2 separate regions of the Homo sapiens genome follow, and region 2 is linked to region 1. The links are contacts of gene promoters, found by promoter capture Hi-C in human tissues and cell types (Jung and others, 2019). All regions are on one chromosome and are shown on one strand. Each heading gives the region's core, a stretch centred on a gene start or on the middle of the fragment in contact. The rest is flanking DNA. Distances are from core to core; before and after follow the strand shown.

Region 1 (3,095 bases), core at 114-2,613:
GAGGAGTCAGAATAAGGACACTGGCCATTTGTCTGTCATCTCCCAGGAGGCACTCCTGGCCAGGGGGATGTCAACCCACTCCTGTTGTCATCTAAGCCAAGCATCTCTGACATTCCATTTGGTGGCCTGCTCATGGTCCCCAGAATCAAGTTTGCATGAAGATTGCCTATATCATTAGGGGCAATAACATTAATCAATTCCTGAAAGGAAAGTGTTGATAAGAAGACACTGGAGAAATGATCCATTTGTAAGCAGAAAAAGGGAGTCAAAACAGATTGAGAATGAATTGGGATTTACCTGATATTAGGAAGAGAGATTCTTCCTGGCTGACATCTAGAAGAGAAGCACAGGATGATGGGAAATGTTACATCTCAAATCTTCAAGACTCACAAGTGTTCTACAGGGAAAATTGTCTTCTCACCACACCCCATGCATCCCCTAGGTTAACTCATCAGCCACCATCTGTGAAGGTGCTGGAAGGGGTGGAAGGTGTAAGAGGAGGCAGGGTTGTTACCACACAGAGCAACAGCAATGAGTTCAACATAGAACAGCCCCTTTTTTTCCTCCCTAGCATCCCTCAAGACTTAATGCTTATTTAGTTTATGCATGCCAGGTACTTCAATGTGATATTTTGGTGTTCTTATGCCCTCCATCTCCTGTTAATATATTGCATACATACACATGTTTTCTCAATAGGGGTAACCAGAAGTAATCATTTCAATACAATCTAACCCATTCCACTCCCAGCACATTGAAATACTGCATGTAGGGGAGAGAAAAATTGTAATGATTGGCTCTGATATTTCTACATCTTTAGTTAGACAGAGACAAGTGTTCTATCCAGTTCTGTCTCTGCAGTATCTCTGATGTGTATGTATCTCTATCATCAATGCCGACTGTCTGTACAGCAAGGCCACCATCATCCCTGTGTACTTACTGGGATCAGTATAGGATCTTCACAGCTGGACTTCCCTGAATCTGCCTTGCACTCTCCACTGCAGCCTTCACAGCACAGTTCTATCTCTATAAATTCAAATCTTACCTTCTCATTCCCCTGGAACAAATTCGTTATTGGATTTCATTGTACATTAAATAAATTAGAAGTCCTTATTGTGGAATGAGGGCACAACAGGTCTCCTGATCCTAGGCATGAAAACTCTGCAGCCCCATCTGTGTTTTCATTCTCCTCTCTTCCCCATAATTACCACTGTCACCTCCTAAGTCCCAAGCAGTCACCGCATCTTTTCCCCCTTCTGTTTTACCTTCACTTGAACTCTCAGCTGAGCTCAGGGCCAGCAGGGCCACTGACAGCAGAATCAGCAGCATCTCGCTGGAGGCTCTGGAGTCACTCCCAACTCTGTGCTGGGAGGAACGTGGCAACTCCCTTTATAAAGAGGAGCAAAACAATGGCACCTTTGAGCCCTGGGTGGGCCTCACCACCTCAGAGACTGGGTTCTGCTTTCCTTACTGCAGGTCAGGTGTATCCCTTATTTCTCTTTGGGACTCTAGCCCAGAGGGATGGGGTGGGTTGGATGTTGTTTGTGCCTTATTTCTAAAAGGTACGACTATGACTTGAATAAAGGTTCTAAAGGAACTGTGTCCAAGCTATCAGCACTGTGTCATAATTGAACTTCAGACATCATTAGAGTTTCAATCCTTTTGGTAAGACTATGTCTGCTTTCCACTCTACTATTTATTTCTGTGTAATATTTGTGGGGGCAGTGAAGCTACAGCCAGCAGTGAAGATGGTCAATTTCTCTGGCTCTTTATAGAGCCTATTTCCATCTCTTGTGATGTGTGTGTACAGATAGTATCACAATTGGCTAAAGTTTTGATGCGATAGAGATGGTTTCTGTTACCTGTGTGATGGTGTGAAGACAACACACTCCTGGGCACACATAGATGACAGAAAGCTGCCCCACAGCCTGCTCGGGCTACAACTATTGTTCAAGCTTCTGTGGATCTGACTCAGCTCAGGCAAGGCTTGTTGTTGTGCCACACAGGAAGGCCAAAATTGTGTATTTTAAAGTACCTTTAGGGGTTATTAATGCAAAATGTACACAGAAACCATAAGGAAATTTCTAGATCTGAGAAAACTGAATACATAATTCCTTGCGGGAGCCATGCGATATCATGTTGCCAAAACTTCCTTCATGCTCTTCCCTTTGTCCAGAATATTCTATAATATTCACCCTCTGCTTCATTTCTTTTAATAATTGTATTGAATTCCTACCACTTATAATTAAGTGGCTACAATTCTACATTCAAATAGGATAATCAGATACCCTCGTTAAAGCCTAAATTGCATTATATTGGTATTCTTGGTTTAGTCAGTATTTGTGTTACCTGTTTTCTCAGATTGTTCTTCCACAAAGAGTATTTTTCTATAATATTCTGATATGCATTCCTCCCCACCTTCTTTCTGGTTCTTCTTTGTTCATATTTTATTTTCTGAGTCAAGCCCATTATGTGTATTTTTCTTTATGTATCTGGCTTTTTTCCCCATGAATTTGGTGAGATTTCCTTTATTTAATCTTCTAAGTATTAGGATATAGTACTTACCATCTTTGTTTCATTCTTGTCTGTGTAATTTCATAATACGTGTTGTGTTTCCAAAAAGCCCTATCAGAGACCTGCATTGTTAGCACTTCTTTCAGCTACTGATTCTTCGTTATATCTGATAAATACCTGCTTATCAGTTCATGGAATATACAGGTTACTCAGTATCAACAGCTGCCATTTACCACTTAGACCTTCCATGTGTCTTGTGTAATTGTTCACATTTTGTGCATGGCTGGTATTAATTTGAGAACACCTTGGTTGGAGGTATGATGGAGGTAGAGAGGGTATGTGACAGTAAATCCTAAAGACAGGCCTCTTGAACATTGTGGATGAGTAGATCCTGGGCTTTGCAGATGAGAATCTGGGTGGCCCTTCTGAAGAGTTGCAGGTAATAGTACAAGCAGACTTCCTAATAAAAAAGGCTTTGCTACAGATAACTTTGCCCTTGCAAGGGAACCACGAAGATTGGTATTTTCCCTGACAAAAATATACACGTACTTGAAATGGGAATACAACTGGAGATGAGCAATCCT
Region 2 (3,181 bases), core at 1-2,500, 65 kb after region 1:
AGTGTTGGTTATTGTGTGAGCTGCTAATCATCACACCTCTTCTCCTGGGTATAAAGAAGATGAATTTATTCCTTGCAATATGATGTGAATCATCTGTCACGATAAGCTTTAGGTTCAACATTGCCTCATTCCTTCTTGAAATGAACTCCTCATTGAATTTGTGAACTGCTGACTTCTTCAACCAATGTCAACTTACCACGTGTCAAGTAGGACAACTCTTTGGACACCATCAATGATTTTGCCTTCCTCCACCCAAGCTTCACCATAAATTTGATGTTTATACTCACTTTAATTTTAGAAAAATTCATGTTGGTCTTCTAGGGGCTCTTTTGAAACTGCTCTTATTTTTCTTGATGCCTCATACTAGCTCCTGTTCAGACATGTTATAGCAAAAGATTATGATTTCATTTTGGTGCCAAAACATTGGAATCCATTCATGGTGTTTCTTAATAGGATATACCTTTTCCTTCAACATTTGAACAACCCACTGCATATAGGAAGGCATCCTGATACAATAAGCTCTACTAGAGGTAACTTAGAATTTTGCAGCTGACTAGGCAGATTGCTGTCTTGTTTTTCTCTTAGGATAAATAGGGATGTTTTCTGAAGATGGAATATAATACCAGTGGCCAAATATTCTCCAGTTACATAGAAAGTTTAACATTTGTAACTGAGATTCACATTCTTTCAGAGAGACACAGAGTGCTTGGGCCAATCTGGTGTCCTGATGTTATTGAATGATTTTCTCTGGTTTCACCAAACATTGTTTGAAAAGGAAGCTGTTGATGGGCAGTCTGGCCTAGGTAGCTTATGGTGGCCCATCAGGAAGGAAAGAAACGCAAGAGAGAAGAAGCAGAGGGGAGAGCCAGGCAGATGTGACTCCTTGTGGGAATCAGTGGGGAAGCTGCAGTCCTGGTTAGAGACAGACTTCTCCTTGTCTGCTGAGTACAGCAAGGCAAGAGGTGATCCTTCCAAATATCACTCAACTCATGCCCTGACCTTCTCCTATGTCAGAAATGAGTGAAAGAGATTAGCATATCAGGAAGGACTAAATATCAGATATCAAGCTACCAGAGACAAGCAAAATAGAGGTTACCAAAGAACTGATGGAGACAGTGTCACTGATTTAGGATGGGGTAAAAGCAAGGAGCAAGATGGCAACAAAAGCTTAGGCATTTGTCCATGAGTCAAGGACGTCAGCAATCCACTTGCCATTTAAAATAATGTAACCATACCGTTTACATTACACTCCTGCACTAAGCAGGACTCTTAATTTCTGCCTCCTAAAACCTGCTCTCCCCTGAATTTCTTCATTATACCTGTCCAAGCAAAATATCACAGACTAATATTCTTAAGCAACAGAAATTATTTTCCGACACTTCTGGATGCTCAAGTTCCACGGTGAATGTGTCAGCAGGTCCAGTTCTTCTTGGCCCTGTCTACTTGGCATCTAGATATCACCTTCTTGCTGTGTCCTCCCATGGGGCTGCGTCTGTGCCTACGTACTTCTTGTGTCTCTCTGTGTGCAAATTTCCAGTTCTTATAAGGAATTTCCACTTTTTCTAAGGACATTCATCTTATTGGATTTAGTTCCACTGAAACTCCCTCATTTTAGCTTGATCACCTCTTCTTAGGGCTATTTTCTGAACACAATCATATTCTAAGGAACAAGAGGTAGGTTGGCTGTGGAGTTTTGTATACCTATGCCTATCATATTTCGCTAAATATTTGATTATATAGAGGTTATGTCTTTAGAACTTTGAGCTATGTGCAGACAACACAAACCTGGCCATTCATGGCTGACAGAAGGTTGGCCCTCAGCCCGGTCGGACCCACACAGATTGTCCAATATTCCTTGGATCTGGCTCCGATCAGAAAAGTCTCGGTGTTTTAGGATACAGGTGTCTTAACGAATTCTATTATTAATATTCGTGGAGAGGTTAAAACAAAGTTGGACACAAAATCTACCAGAGGTTTCTAGAAATGAACAGAATGAATAGAAGTTCTTGAATGAGCCATCCTACTTCATGTCTTTAAGAATTTTTTCTTGCTCTTCCCCTTTATTAGAATGTTTGATCAGATACAGTTTGGACTTTATGTCTTACAAGATTATATATATATAAATATAGGCTCTCGCTCTGTCACCCAAGCTGGAGGGTGGTGTCCTGATCATGGATTCCAGCATCCTAGAACTCCTGTGCTCTTGGGATTCCCCCCACTTCAACCACTTGAGTAGCTTGAATTACAGGTTCATGACACCCACCATGCCCGTTTATTATTTTTTAATTTATTTAAAAATTTTTTGAAGAGATGGATCCACAATTTGTTGCTCAGGCTGGTCTTAAACTCCTGGCCTCAAGGGATCCATCCAACTCACCCTCCCAAAGTCCTGGGATAACAGACATGAGTCACTACATTCAGTTATTCTTCTAGGAAAAATTTTTAATCACTCCCACTTACAATGAGTGGCCACAATTATATATCCCAATAAGATAGTCAGGAACCCACATAAAAGCCTCAAGGGTATTGCACTGATCTATTTCTTAGTACATGTGCTGTCTCCCAGATTCTTCTTCCAAACAGAAATTTTTTTTATTTTTGCAATATTCTGAAACTAATTTCTCAAGACTCGCTTTCTAAAATGTATTTGTTGACATTTTCTGTTCTAAATAATCTTCCCTGTGTTTATTTTTCATCTTATGTCTGGCTTCTTTATAAATACATTTTGGGAATTTTCTTAAATCGACTCTTCTAAGTAAGCATCTATAATTCTTCTTACTCCTTTCATTTTATGTTTGTTTTTAAAATTTGGATCAATATACTGTATTTCCAAAGTATTTTTACTGAGTTTGTGTTGGTAGCTCTCTTTTCATCCACTGACTTCTCTGTTATATCAAGTAGTTTCTGCCCATCATTTCATCTTTTTATGGAAAATGCAGGTTAGTCAGTATTAACAGCTGCCACTTATCATTTCAGGCCTCGAATAACTTTTGTGACATCATTCAGTTTTGGCTCAGGGATAGTGATAACTTCAGGATACCTCGTTAAAGGCATTGTGTGTGGGTCTGCCACTGGAAATCCTAAACACAGGCCACTTGATCATTTTGATGAGAGGATCCTGTGTTGTACACATTAGAATCTGATCCTGCTCTTCCAGATGGGTTTGAAATACAAGGGATTT

Evidence for each region. Contacts are between HindIII fragments. The study calls those that stand out against the background at their distance.
Region 2: a fragment that was not itself captured here is called in contact with the fragment with the promoter of PRB4 in region 1 in 2 of the 25 tissues and cell types used here (adrenal gland and pancreas).

The regions. Positions count from the first base shown.
Region 1 is chr12:11,309,073-11,312,167 of GRCh38, forward strand. PRB4 (proline rich protein BstNI subfamily 4) reads right to left here and starts at 1,364. Exons shown (of 4, transcript NM_002723.6): 1 at 1,263-1,364; 2 at 298-333. The coding sequence starts at 1,326. The HindIII fragment of the contact is 9,974 bases long and covers 1-3,095 here.
Region 2 is chr12:11,373,768-11,376,948 of GRCh38, forward strand. No RefSeq gene overlaps it. Among named protein-coding and RNA genes, the nearest start is that of PRB2, 20 kb to the right of the region's middle. The HindIII fragment of the contact is 3,954 bases long and covers 1-3,181 here.